2 separate regions of the Homo sapiens genome follow, and region 2 is linked to region 1. The links are contacts of gene promoters, found by promoter capture Hi-C in human tissues and cell types (Jung and others, 2019). All regions are on one chromosome and are shown on one strand. The core of a region is centred on a gene start or on the middle of the fragment in contact, and the rest is flanking DNA. Distances in the headings are between cores, read along the strand shown.

Evidence for each region. The method cuts DNA at HindIII sites, captures the fragments that hold promoters and counts their contacts. A contact is called where the count stands out against the background at its distance.
Region 2: a fragment that was not itself captured here is called in contact with the fragment with the promoter of AMT in region 1 in 4 of the 25 tissues and cell types used here (liver, lymphoblastoid cells, mesenchymal stem cells and 1 more).

The regions. Positions count from the first base shown.
Region 1 is chr3:49,420,631-49,427,848 of GRCh38, reverse strand. It overlaps AMT (aminomethyltransferase), which reads left to right and starts at 5,376. Exons shown (of 9, transcript NM_000481.4): 1 at 5,376-5,488; 2 at 5,578-5,745; 3 at 6,277-6,357. The coding sequence starts at 5,399. NICN1 (nicolin 1, tubulin polyglutamylase complex subunit) reads left to right here. Exons shown (of 6, transcript NM_032316.3): 2 at 1,421-1,597; 3 at 1,853-1,966; 4 at 2,411-2,482; 5 at 2,796-2,900; 6 at 2,975-5,516. The coding sequence ends at 3,016. RefSeq lists enhancers at 4,995-5,748, 5,749-6,501. The HindIII fragment of the contact is 4,289 bases long and covers 4,579-7,218 here.
Region 2 is chr3:49,315,070-49,322,287 of GRCh38, reverse strand. All of the region lies in intron 6 of USP4 (ubiquitin specific peptidase 4), which reads left to right. LOC124906236 (Sjoegren syndrome nuclear autoantigen 1 homolog) reads left to right here and starts at 3,226. Exons shown (of 2, transcript XM_047449404.1): 1 at 3,226-3,979; 2 at 4,810-5,636. The coding sequence starts at 4,823. The coding sequence ends at 5,206. RefSeq lists enhancers at 4,795-5,294, 5,295-5,796. The HindIII fragment of the contact is 7,768 bases long and covers 1-7,133 here.

The DNA of each region.
Region 1 (7,218 bases), core at 4,127-6,626:
TAGACTAAGGTGAAGCCAGGACAATTTATTTGGTAACACATTTTCTTGGGTAATTCTGATGAGTATCCAATGACAAGATCCACTGCAGTAGTCAAGCTGAATCACTGGCTGTTCCAGTGGCACACCAGGTTCTCTCACCCTTTGGTAATTATTTGTATATGCTACTTTTACATTATCTACATTTCTTTTTTTTTTTTTTTTTTTCTGAGAGGTAGCCTCGTTTTGTCACCCAGGCTGGAGTACAGTGGCTTGATCTTGGCTCACTGCAACCTCCACCTCCTGGGTTCAAGCAATTCTCCTGCCTCAGCCTCCCGAGTAGCTGGGATTACAGGCATGCGCCACCACGCTCAGCTAATATTTTTGTATTTTTAGTAGAGATTGGGTTTCACTATGTTGGTCAGGCTGGTCTCGAACTCCTGAACTTAAATGATCCACCCGCCCCAGCCTCCCAAAGTGCTGGCATTACAGACAGATGTAAGCCACTGCACCCAGCCTACGTTTTCTACATCTCTTTTTTTTTTTTTTTGAGACCGTGTCTTGCTCTGTCGCGCCCAGGCTGGAGTGGAATGGCGCGATCTCAGCTCACTGCAAGCTCCGCCTCCTGGGTTCACGCCATTCTCCTGCCTCAGCCTCCCGAGTAGCTGGGACTACAGGTGCCCGCCACCAAGCCCGGCTAATTTTTTGTATTTTTAGTAGAGACGGGGTTTCACTGTGTTAGCCAGGATGGTCTCAATCTCCTGACCTTGTGATCCGCCCGCCTCGGCCTCCGAAAGTGCTGGGATTACAGGCTTGAGCCACCGTGCCCGGCCACGTTTTCTACATTTCTTAGTCCACTTGGTGAACTCTTCCTCCTTCAGGCCTCATATGTACATTTTCTGCCTCTTCCAGGGTTAGAGCGCTGCTCTCTAGCAGCATCTTGGACGTGTGGCAAGATCTGCAGTCGTGGTTTGTTTCCAGGACCTACTCATTTAGACTGTGAGCACCTTTAGGAAGGCAGAATTGTCTTTGGGCCCTAGTGATACTTGTTGAAATTGTTAGTTTAGTAGAAGAGTACATTGAAAGGGGAAGAGGCAGGTGGATCACCTAAGGTCAGGAATTTGAGAGCATCCTGGCCAACATGGTGAAATTCTGTCTCTACTAAAAGTACAAAACAATTAGCTGGGCGTGGTGGCACGTACCTGTAGTCCCGGCTACTAGGGAGGCTGAGGCAGGAGAATCGCTTGAACCTGGGAGGTGGAGGTTGCAGTGAGCTGAGATCACGCTACTGCACTCCAGCCTGGGCAAAAGAGCAAGATTTCCTCTCAAAAAAAAAAAAAAAAGAAAAGGTGGGGAGAAGGAAGAGGTGGCACCTTTGATCTTTGAGCTTTTCAGGCCCCTGGGCCTGGGTCTGACTTGTTGTAATGGGTTGTATGTGTTCTAGTTGCAGGAAATCACGTTTAAGAATTACTACACAGCTTTTTTGAGCATCCGTGTCCGTCAGTACACCTCAGCACACACACCTGCCAAGTGGGTGACCTGCCTGCGGGACTACTGCCTAATGCCTGACCCACACAGTGAGGAGGGAGCCCAGGAGTATGTATCGCTGTTCAAGCATCAGGTCAGCTGGGCCTCAGGATGGCCAGGGCAGCCCAGATGAGGACTTACCAGAGGTGGGGGGATTGGATCAATATACCAAGAGGGAAGAGGGGGCCAGTCTGGCCTGAACTGTGACTTCCAGGGAAGTGCCTTGGAGGGACTACTGTTCCTTCCTTCCCAAGGCCTGTGGGGTGGGCAGCATTCTGGCTCATTGCTGGTTGGGAGGCTTCTGGGCAGTGAGCTGGATCCTTGCTGGGTCCTTGTGTGTGTGTGTCAGATGCTGTGTGACATGGCTAGAATATCGGAGCTACGCCTGATTCTGCGGCAGCCATCACCACTGTGGCTGTCTTTCACAGTGGAGGAGCTGCAGATCTATCAGCAGGGACCAAAGGTAAGTGACTAGCTCAGCTGCTGGCTGGCCCTTTCCCCAGAAAGCTTCTATGACTGGGAAAGCTAGGTGGTGGGGTGGGTAATGGGTGAAGATTGTGAATGGGGCCTTCATGGAGGTTAGCTGGGTGTGAATGCTGGAAGCTCACAATGAGAGGTGAGGCCATGTCCCCATATCCCCTGACCTTTGGGGCCACCTGCTACTTTCAGAGCTGGAGCCTTTAGGTGCTGGGAGACACTTTTGAGCTTGTGTTTCTGAGGACTCCGTCTGCACAGCAGGAGAACTTAGGTAGTCTGACTGCCTCTTTAGGTCTCTGTGGGCTCCCTAAACAGGGTTTTCCCAGTGTCTGAGGCCCAGCGGCCCTTCTCTCTGCTCCTAGGACCTTGGAATCTGGTCCCAGAGCTGTCCACTTTGTCTCACTCAGGGCAGTACATCTTTGCTTTGCAGAGCCCCTCCGTGACCTTTCCCAAGTGGCTCTCCCACCCAGTGCCCTGTGAGCAACCTGCACTCCTCCGTGAGGTAAGCCCTCACCCTAGGTAAGAACCATGTGTGAATGGCTCTAGTGTCCAACACAGGCCAGGTAGACCCCTTCCTGTAAAATTCTGGGGCTGGGCCCAGGGCCCTTGGGTGTTATCTTCCTCCTGGGTATTCTGTGGGATTTGAGGCATCTCTGTTGTGGGGCTACATCAGGCCCTAACCTCATGTTTCATAAGCCATCTGAGAATGTTGTTGGTCTCAGCTGGAGGGCCCCTAGCCCAGGTTGGCCTCTCTGGAGCCTGAAGGGCACTGCTGGGGAGAGACCCATGGCCACTGACCCCTCCTTCTGGAGCAGGGTCTCCCAGACCCCAGCAGGGTATCCTCCGAGGTGCAGCAGATGTGGGCACTGACAGAGATGATCCGGGCCAGTCACACCTCCGCAAGGATCGGCCGCTTTGATGTAAGTAATCGCTTCCTTCTGCTTGGCTTGCTTTGCCCTGAGCAGATCAGACCTGATGGTCTTTTGTATTTCAGGTGGATGGCTGTTATGACCTGAACTTGCTCTCCTACACTTGAATGGTTGCTCCTAGCCAAGATGTTGGCCTTTCTGTGCCCACCCAGACTTGGTTTGGGCCACCAGAGGCTGAAGTGTATTTCCTGTGCATTCCAAGTGTTGCCTGCATGCCTGTTCTGTCTGGGCCACATTCACAGATTCAGGATTCTCAGGGGCTTACCGTGTTACTTCAGCATGAGCTCCTGGCATGGGGGTGCTCTGTCTTCGCCTGGCTGCAACTCAATTCTTCCTTCTACCCAAAAACACTCCAGTCAGTTGTACTTACTGAGAATCCCTGAGTGCCCTCTGCCCCTTCTGGCAACATGCACATTCCTGTCTTCTGCCTGCTCCCTCATGTCAGTGCAGTTGGGCTGGGCTGACCTACTAAAACCTGCTCCATGTATGGACCTGGAAGGCCATTGCTGCCATGGCACTTGGGACACTTGAGGAAGAAACAGAAACCTTATTTCTTCCTGTGTGTCCCCTAGTGGTTTTCTTTCCATTTGTGTTATGCCACAGAGAGAAATTTCCTGTCTGAACTCTTCTGCTGCCTGCCTAGGAAGGAAACCTGAAGATTTGGGCAGCCTGAGTCTCTTGGTTTCTGAGCTGGCTCCTGAATATATGTTCAAGTGGGTGTGCCCATAGGGCCTGGGCACGTGTCTCTAGCAAAACCAGGGCCTGAGCATAAGAACTGGGACCCTTCTAGGCAGGGTGCAGTGGCTCACGCCTGTAATCCCAGCACTTTGGGAGGCCCAGGCAGGCGGATCACCTGAGGTCAGGAGTTCAAGACCAGCCTGACCAACCTGGAGAAACCCCGTCTCTACTAAAAATACAAAAAATTAGCTGGGCGTGGTGGTAGGCACCTGTAATCCCAGCTACTTGGGAGGCTGAGGCAGGAGAATCTCTTGAACCCGGGAAGTGGAGGTTGCGGACCTGAGATCATGCCATTGCACTCCAGCCTGGGCAAGAAGAGCGAAACTCCATCTTAAACAAACAAACAAAAAAAAAAGAACTGGGACCCTTCTGCCATCTGACATAGCCCAAAGCACATCTCTATCCTTTCTCCCAGTTGCCCCTCTCCTTTTTTGTTGTTTTTTTTGAGGTTGAGTTTTGCTCTTGTTGCCCAGGCTGGAGTGCAATAGTGCAATCTTGGCTAACTGCAACCTCCGCCTCCCAGGTTCAAGCAATTCTCCTGCCTCAGTCTCCCGAGTAGCTGGGATTACAGTCATGCATCACCATGCCTGGCTAATTTTGTATTTGTAGTAGAGATGGGGTTTCTCCATGTTGGTCAGGCTGGTCTCAAACACCTGACCTCAGGTGATCTGCCTGCCTTGGCCTTCCAAAGTGCTGGGATTACAGGCATGAGCCACCGCGCCCGCCCTGCCCCTTTCCAAGAGATATGCTCAGCATAATGAGAGATCAACCGTGGTGGGGAGTGGGTCCAAGTAAGGGTTCTCATTGTTGCCTTTTAAGAGGCCTAAGTCCTGCATTAACTCAGTCCAACCATTAAGTGATGCAGGCTGCTCTTCCCTCATGTGAGAAAAACCTGTTTCCCTCTGGTTCTTCCTGGCTTTGCACCTGGTGGCTATTACAAAGCAGTACTGCAGTATGTCTTGGACCTGGAAAGTTGGACATGTGTGTGGCTCAACAGTTTTCTCGGGGGAGTTCAGTGACCTTTTGGTGGCCACCCTCTGTTCTCACCTGTGAGTTCTTGCAGGTGGCGACTTCATCTGCAAGGTCACTTACATAGCCCCACTCAGCTGCTTCGGAAAGCGTGACGAAGCAGTAGTCCTCAGTGTGTGTGTAAGTGAAGAGGACCTTGTGGTAGCAGGGACCATGCTTCATTCGTGGCTGTGTCCCCATCTGAGGGCCTGGTATGCAGTAAGATCAATAAATACTTGTGGAATGCATGACTGCTGGCTGCCTGTGTCTGCCTGGTGGGAGAGCTGTGGAACTAGGGGTCCACATGAGGACAGACTACTGTGGTGCTGCCTACCTGCCAGGCTGGCCCACCTTCCCCACCCCCACTTGACCTTACTCTCTTGAGGTCCTAAAGGTATGATTCAGACCTTTCAGCCCTTTCCAGAACTTTGACCCTCTGGAGACAGGGCGGTTCTGCAGGGGGCGGTCTAGCCCCTAGCTTTGTTCTGGGCAGCCCAATCAGCTCTGGATTGCCCGAGCTGCCCTGAAGAGTCAGCCGAAAGAGCTGGAGGCTTCTTCCCTGTGGTTGCGGGTTCCTGCATTCTCTGCTCTAAATCCCAGCCTGCCCTTGGGGCTGCCCACGCCCCCTTCAGATCCTTTGCTCCGGAGAGAGACCTGTCCGAGCAGAGGCCTGGACTACATCTCCCGGCGTGCCTGGCAGTGTGGTGGCCTCTGTGCGCCGTCTGCACTCGTTGCAGGCGACGATGCAGAGGGCTGTAAGTGTGGTGGCCCGTCTGGGCTTTCGCCTGCAGGCATTCCCCCCGGCCTTGTGTCGTCCACTTAGTTGCGCACAGGTGGGATAGAGGGTGCTGATCTTGGAGGGTGGGGGAGGGAAGCGGCTGGGGGCTAGGGCCCTGGTGGCACTAAGCCCAGCCGCCCACAGGAGGTGCTCCGCAGGACACCGCTCTATGACTTCCACCTGGCCCACGGCGGGAAAATGGTGGCGTTTGCGGGTTGGAGTCTGCCAGTGCAGTACCGGGACAGTCACACTGACTCGCACCTGCACACACGCCAGCACTGCTCGCTCTTTGACGTGTCTCATATGCTGCAGGTGAGCCAGGGGAGCACACTGGCCATCTGATCAGGCCTTCCTCCCTGTTTACAGTGGTCCACTCCTTGGCTTTGTTTGCTGTGAACTGGATTCCAAGGACAGCCTTCTCAGAAGAGCTAGAGGTCATGGGGGTGTCATGGATAGGTCAATGGCCCCAAGGAAATGAGCTCAGAGGGTCTCATCATCTCATCCTTCTAGCTTGCCCCCATTAAATGGTGTGCCTTAATGTCCCGGGTTTTCCAGGGCTGACACCCACTCTCATGTATTGGGCTGGATGTTGGTTTGAAAAGGGGTTATTTCAGGAAGGTGCTAGGTCCTGTCCAGTTCCCTGGCAGTCCCCCCACACAGAGTGACTGGGGGAGGTCAGGAAATCAGAAGGTGGTCCTTTGCCACGTGTAGAACCAAAAGACTGGTTAGTCACTTTGGGTGGGCTGGACTGCACTGTGGATGGCAGGGAGGATGCATCCTTGCTTAGTAGCCTTTTGGATTGTAGCTGTTGCAATGGCCTGAGGCTTTCAATCTCTTCCCCAGACCAAGATACTTGGTAGTGACCGGGTGAAGCTGATGGAGAGTCTAGTGGTTGGAGACATTGCAGAGCTAAGACCAAACCAGGTGGGCCCTTTTATTTCTGCTCTATGAGTTTTCTTAGTCATGAGCCAGCAAATGGGCTGAGTCCCTACCTCAGGCTTAGGGGCACAGAGATGAGTCAAACACAGCTTCTCAGGGCTTGCAGTCTTGGACAGAATCCCTGAGTCATTTCCAGAGACACAGACATTTGTAGGGAGGGGAATATCCCAGTCTTACTACATCAGGCTAGGAGGCCAGAAACCAAGGTTAATATGCTGCTCTCTGGCCATCCCTTCTGCTTAACCCCTCTCTATTCAACATGTGGTCCCTGGCCAGGCGACGTGACTCAAACACCTGTAATCCTGGCACTTGGGGAGGCCAAGGCGGGTGGATCACCTGAGGTCAGGAGTTCGAGACCAGCCTGGCCAACATGGCAAAACCTCGTTTCTACTAAAAACACAAAAATTAGCCGGGCGTGGTGGCGCGTGCTTGTAGTCCCAGCTACTCGGGAGGCTGAGGTTGCAGCAAGCTGAGGTTGCACCACTGCACTCTGGCCTGGGCAACAGAGTGAGACTCAGTCTAAAAAGAAAAATAACAACAACAAAGTGTGGTCTCTAAACCAGCATCTTTGGAGCTTGTTAGGAATATAGTCTCAGGCACTGCTGCAGACCTGCTGAATCAGAACCTTCATTTTAACAAGATCCCCAGGTGATTCATGTGACCCCCTCAACCTCAGGCTTTTTGTCCATCCAGTGGGGAGGCTAAGGAAGTTTTTTGGGGGCATTGCTATGGAGTACTTAGGAGAGCCTGCGATCATCAAGATGACCTTTGAAGCTTTTGTCCTGTGGGTTGCCACATGGGCTAAGTCGTCCCAGGTTTGGGTAGGTGAAGCAGCAGGTCCTAGGT
Region 2 (7,218 bases), core at 2,000-4,499, 100 kb after region 1:
CTTTGCACAACAGTGATGAGTCTAATGAAAAATGATGAATGAGAGAAGGTAGACACAGAGCAGGGCATAATGATTCTGTTGACTTAAAACTTTATAACAGGCAAAATTAACCTTGGGGATTCATGGTCAGAACTGGTTAGTGTTGGGAAGAATTGCGACTGAATCGTGAGAAGGACACCTAGGGGTCTGGGGGTGTCCTGTTTCTTGGTCAGGGTAGTGGTTACATGGATGTATCACTTGGTGCAAATTTCTTGATTTTATACACTCAGGGGTTTTGTTTTTTTGTTTTTTTAATAGACGGAGTCTTGATCTGTAGCCCAGGCTGGAGTCCAGTGGCATGATCTCGGTTCACTGTAACCTCTGCCTCCTGGGTTCAAGCAATTCTGTGCCTCAGCCTCCTGAGTAGCTGGGATTACAGGTGCATGCCACCCATGCACAGCCAATTTTTGTATTTTTAGTAGAGACGGGGTTTCACCATGTTGGCCAGGCTGGTCTCGAACTTCTAGCCTCAAGTGATCCGCCTGCCTCGGCCTCCCAAAATGCTGGGATTACAGGCATAAGCCACGGCGCCCGGCCAAAAAAAATCAATAATAGGCCAGGTGCGGTGGCTGGCCAACATGCTGAAACCCCATCTCTTAAAAAATAGAAGAAAATTAGCCCGGTGCAGTGGCACATGCCTGTAATCGTAGCTACTGGGGAGGCTGAGGCATGAGAATGGTGGTGGGGATTGCAGTGAGCCTAGATCGTGCCACTGCACTCCAGCTTGGGCGATACAGTGAGACTCTGTCTCAGGAGAAAAAAAAAAAAAAGGTACAATAATAATCAAGGTTTAAGAAAGCAACTAGTATCTATAATATTCCAGAGATAAATTCTGGGTAATTCCAACATAGGTGAGGAATTAGTATAGAGCAGAGAGAGATGAGAATGTCCAGAACTACTATTCTTGAGGATGAGAAAGGTGAACAATTGTAAGTTTATGTAATTTATGGGGAAAAATAAAAATAGAGATCCTAATAAGTTAATGGAACAACTAACAGAAACGGAAAATTGAATGTATAACTTTGAAACATACTACGTCAGTTAGGAAAGGCTTGCTGGCAGGTAAGAAAAATCTGCAAATTAGCGTATTAAGCAAGATGGAGGCTTACATCTTTCTGAAAAGAATTTCTGACGTAGGCAGTCAATCCATTGCTGACGTAGCAGCTCCATGGCAATATTAAACCCAGCTGACCTACCCCTTCCTTTTTAGGACATTTCTCAGATATCATACATCAAACCTCCTTTGTATCTCATTGGCTAATCATATGACAATACCTGGCTTTCAGGAAGGCTGGGATGTACTGTATAGCAGGACTGCATCATGTCCAGCTAAAAACTGGGGTTCTCAAACTAAGGAAGGAGGGGAAAATAGCTAGCAGGAGGCGACTAGCAAACTGCCACACCTGCAAAAGGAAAATTAATGGAAGGCAAAAATGAAGGGGGGAAAAAATAAGAAGTATGGTAATTAGAAAGCATGTTAGAACATGTGGAAAAAGGGGGAAAAAAAAGAAACCTGAAATAAGGAGGCTGAATTAAATTCAGTGAAGTCTAATAACAGCATTAGAATCACTGTAGATGAGTTAAATTTACCAAACTAAAGACAAACTCTCAGATCAGACTTTAAAAGACAAACCACACCAGGGATACAGTGGTATGTGCCTATAGTCCTAGCTACTCAGAAGGCTGAGGGAGGAAGCTTGCTTGAGCCCAGGAGTTCGAAGTTACCGTGAGCCACGATTGCATCATTGCACTCCAGCCTGGACGACAGAGTGAGATGCTGTCTCTTTTTCTTTTTCTTTTTTGTTTGAGATGGAGTTTCACTCTTGTTGCCCAGGTTGGAGTGTAATGGCGCGATCTTGGCTCACTGCAACCTCTGCCTCCCAGGTTCAAGCAATTCTCCTGCCTCAGCCTCTCGAGTAGCTGGGATTACAGGCATGCGCCACCACGCCCGGCTAATTTTGTATTTTTAGTAGAGACAGGGTTTCTCCATGTTGGTCAGGCTGGAGACCCTGTCTCTTGGAAAAAAAGAGTCAGGCATGGTGGCTTATACCTGTAATCCCAACATTTTGGAAAGCTGAGGTGGGAGGATTGCTTGAGGATAGGAGTTTGAGACCAGCCTGGTCAACATAGCAAGACTCCTGTCTCTACAAAATTTTTTTTAAAAATTAGCTGGGCATGGTAGCTTGTGCCTGCAGTTCCAGCTTCTTGGGAGGCTGAGGTGGGAGGATCCCTTGAGCACAGGAGTTTGAGGCTGTAGTGAGCTATAATTGTGCACTGCACTGCAGCCTGGGTGACAGAGCAAGAGCTTGTCTCAAAACACAAGAAAACAAAACAAGGCTGGGCACAGTGGCTCATGGCCTGTAATCCCACTTTGGGAGGCGGAGGTGGGTGGATCACTTGAGGTCAGGAGTTCAAGACCAGCCTGGTGAACATAGCGAGACCCCCCTATCTACTAAAAGTACAGAAAATTAGCCAGGAGTGGTGGCGTGCACCTGTAATCCCAGCTACTTGGGAGGCTGAGGCAGGAGAATTGCTTGAACTCAGGAGGTGGAGGTTGTAGTGAGCTGAGATGGCACCATTGCACTCCAGCCTGCGTGACAGAGCAAGACTCCATCTCAGAAAACAAACAAACAAACAAACAAACAAACATGTTTAGTAATACATTGTGTGTCAAAGACACAGAGAAGTTGAAATTGAGGGAATGGAAATAGTGGCTTATGCCTGTAATCCCAGCACTTTGGGAGGCAGAGGCAGGCACATCACGAGGTCAAGAGATCAAGACCATCCTGGGCCAATATGGTGAAACCCCGTCTCTACTAAAAATACAAAAAAATTAGCTGGGTGTGATGGCATGCTCCTGTAGTCCCAGCTACTCGGGAGGCTGAGGCAGGAGAATCTCTTGAACCCGGGAGGCGGAGGTTGCGGTCAGCCGAGATCGCGCCACTGCACTCCAGCCTGGGCAACAGAGCAAGACTCCGTCTCAAAAAATAACAAGAAAACGTACATCAAGGGAATATGTCATCGAAGGAAGGTCACTAGTTGGCTTAATAACTTTTTTAAAACCTACCAATAGAGTCAGTTTTATATATTTCTTTTTTTTTTTTTTTGAGATGCAGTCTTGCTCTGTCACCCAAGCAGGAGTGCAGTGGCGCAATCCCTCCCAAGGTGGTGGAATTACAGGTGTGAGCCACCATGCCTGGCCAATGTATTTCTATTTATTTATTTATCCCTCAACAGTCCTCCCTCCAATTTAATATATTTCTTGGCAGAGGATAGTAAATGTTTCCATGGATGGATTCCTTGGTGGTGGTGATGGTGGTTTGTTTTTTTTTTTTTTTTGAGGCAGAGTCTTGCTCTGTCACCCAGGCTGGAGTGCAGTGGCACGATCTCGGCTCACTGCAACCTCTGCCTCTCAGGTTCAAGCGATTCTCCTGCCTCAGCCTCCTGAGCAGCTGGGATTACGGGTTCGTGCCACCACGCCCGGCTAATTTTTTGTATTTTTAGTAGAGATGGGATTTCACCACGTTGGCCAGGCTGGTCTCGAACTCCTGGCCTCAGGTGATCCACCCGCCTTGGCGTCCCAGAGTGCTGGGATTACAGGCGTGAGCCACCACACCTGGCCGGTTGTTTATATTTAATTGTCTTTTTTTCACTAATGAGGACCACCTTGTAAATTCTGGGCATTTTCAGAGTTTTCTCTTCCATGTGAATTGCTCCAGCTAACTTAATATTAGTTTCTCAAGGGTTTGTGTAGACCTGGCTTTGTCTCTTTCCATCTGTTTCTCTCTTTCCCTTTAACGTCACTTGCCTGAGGTCTATAAGGCCCTTTAAGGTTGCCAGCCCAGAGCCAGAAGAGATTGGTGTCCCTGAAGTTAAGAAAGCCACCTTTGCCTACAGATGGTGTTCACAGTGTTGGTGTGGAGTCACAGCTTGACTTTTGGTAAGGCAGCAAGTATTCTGACTGTTAAGAGTTTATTGTAGCTGGGCACTGGTGGCTCATGCCTGTAATCCCAGCAGTTTGAGAGGCTGATGTGGGAAGATTGCTTGAGCCCAGGAGTTTGAGACCATCCTAGGCAACATAATGTGACCCTGTCTCTTAAAAAAATAAAATTAGGTCAGGCACGGTGGCTCATGCCTATAATCCCAGCACTTTGGGAGGCCAAGGCGGGCGGATCACCTAAGGTCAGGAGTTCAAGACCAGTCTGGCCAACATGGTGAAACCCTGTCTCTACTAAAAATGCAAAAATTAGCCAGGCGTGGTGGCGTGTGCCTGTAATCCCAGCTACCTGGGAGCCTGAGGCAAGAGACTCGCTTAAACCCAGGAGGCAGAGGTTGCAGTGAGCTGAGACTTCACCATTGCTTTCCAGCCTGGGCAACAAGAGTGAAACTCCATCTCAGGCTGGGCGCAGTGGCTCATGCCTGTAATCCCAGCACTTTGGGAGGCCGAGGCGGGCGGATCACGAGGTCAGGAGATTGAGACCATCCTGGCTAACACAGTGAAACCCCGTCTCTACTAAAAATACTTAAAAAAAAAAAAAAACACCACGGGCATGGTGGCAGGCGCCTGTAGTCCCAGCTACTCGGGAGGCTGAGGCAGGAGAATGATGTGAACCCAGGAGGCGGAGCATGCAGTGAGCCGATATCACGCCACTGCACTCCAGGCTGGGCAACAGAGTAAGACTGTTGTCTCAAAAAAAAAAAAAAAACAAACAAACAAAAAACAAAACAAAACAAAAAAAGAGTGAAACTCCATCTCAAAAAAAAAAATAGGGGGCCCCAGGAGATGTTGACCCAGCAGGGCATGGCGCTGCAGAACTACGACAACAAGCTGGTCAAATGCATAGAGGAGCTATGCCAGAAGCAGGAGGAGCTGTGCTGGCAGATCCAGCAGGAGGAGGACAAGAAACAGCGGCTGCAGAATGAGGTGAGGCAGCTGACAGAGAAGCTGGCCTGCGTCAACGAGAAGCTGGCCCGCGTCAACGAGAACCTGGCACGCAAGATTGCCTCTTGCAGTAAGTTCTACCAGACCATCGCGGAGACGGAGGCCACCTACCTCAAGATGCTGGAGAGCTCCCAGACTTTGCTCAGTGTCCTGAAGAGGGAAGCTGGGAACCTGACCAAGGCTACAGCCTCAGACCAGAAAAGTAGTGGTGGCAGGGACAGCTGACCAGACCATGGGCAGGGCCTGCCTCTGTGCGCCCCTCAACTCAGCCCCAGCAAGTCTGTCCACAGAGCGTCTTCTTCATGGCAGCAGCTGCCTTCTTTCACTGTCTCAGGTGCTAAGAGGGGCAGCTGCCAACCTCCACTGGCATCAGTGACAAGCCCGGGGCACAGCCTGTGGGTCCTGGCTTTGTGCTCACACAGGCTATGGGGAGGGTGGGCTCTAGGTCAGCTCTGCAAGGGGCCTGTCTCTGCGGCACCCACACTCCTGGGCTGCCAGGGAGGTCCTGGTTGTAGTCTGAGCACCATGGAGGTCCCCTCAGCCAGCAGAGGCCCAGGGCAGGGGGCAGGGGTTCTCCTTCATCCCAGAACCCAAACCTCAGGGCTCACCCCTGTGGCCTGTGACTGTCAATAAAGATTATCTTTGTAAAAATAAATAAATGATTGAATGAATGAATGAAAAATAAGTTAACCGGGCTTGGTGGCTTACGCCTATAATTCTAGCACTTTGGGAGGCTGAGGCGGGCAGATCACTTGAGGCCAGGAGTTCGAGACTAGCCTGGCCAACATGGTAAAACCCTGTCTCTACTAAAAATAAAAAAATAGCCAGGCATAGTGGCATGCACCTGTAATTCCAGCTACTCGGGAGGCTGAGGCATGAGAATTGCTTGAACTGGGGAGGCTGAGGCATGAGAATTGCTTGAACTGGGGAGGTGAAGTCTGCAGTGAGCTGAGATTGGACCACTGCACTCCAGCCTGGGTGACAGAGTGAGACACTCTCAAAATAAATAAATAAAGTTAAATTAAAAGAGTTTATCATTATCTTAATTATAATTCCAGGTACCAGACGCTGGATACTTGAGGTCAGTCTTTATTTTATTTTTTTTAGATGAAGTCTCGCTCTCATTTCCCAGTCTGGAGTGCAATGGCGCGATCTCGGCTCACTGCAACCTCCACCTCCCGGGTTCAAGTGATTCTCCTGCCTCAGCCTCTGAGTAGATGGAATTACAGGCATGTGCCACCATGCCTGGCTAATTTTGTATTTTTAGTAGAGATGGGGTTCCTCTGTGTTGGTCAGACTGGTCTCGGACTCCCAACCTCATGTGATCCGCCCACCTCAGCCTCCCAAAGTGCTGGGATTACAGGCGTGAGCCACCACGCCTGGCCTAGTCTTAAAGGATAGGATAGATTCATCCTCAGAGCAGCATTCAGTCTGGAGAACATCTGAGAAGCAAGTGGAGTGCAGTAGATTAAGGAGGGCAGGGATGGGCTTTGCCTGGTTTGTCCAGAGCCTCACTTTGGGCCTGGGCACAGGGATGTTACAGGGTCCCACCATGGTATCAGGCACACGTTTGAGTTGTAATTGATAATCACGTGACATGCCTGGGGAGCAGGACTTACCAGTAGAAAGGTGCCTGGGAGTCCAGAGGCTTGACTACAGTGTCTCTTAGGAGCAGAGGTATCCTTGTTTGGAGGCATAGTGTCTGTTTTCAGAGTGTGGCATGAGACCCAGTCACAAATCAGAGTGAGATCTTGCTTACCTAATATATATGCCTGAGATTCAGACATTTCTCCTGGCTTCCTATATTCCAGCCTGTAATGCCCAGGGTTTGTTCCACAGTTGCCTGAAGGTCTGGAGACAAGTCCCTGCCCTAGTGCTCAGCATTTCCCAGATTATAGTAAATTTTCTGAAGAGAAGTTTTGCTTCTGACTTGTCTGTCAAAGATAGAGTATTTTTTAATAGATAGGGTCTTGCTTTGTTGCCCAGACTGGAATGCAATGGCATGATCATAGTTCACTGCAACCTCAAACTCCTGGGATCAAGGGATCCTCTCGGCTTAGCCTCCCGAGTAGCTAGGACTGCAGGCACGTGCTGCTATGCCTGGCTTTTTCTGTTCTGTAAAGAGAAGTTCAGCCTCCCAAAGTGCTGGGATTGTAAGCATGAGCCACTGCACCCAGCCTAAGGATAGAGTTTTTTTTTTTTTAAATCTTACTGTGTTAATTTTCAAGCATATAAAA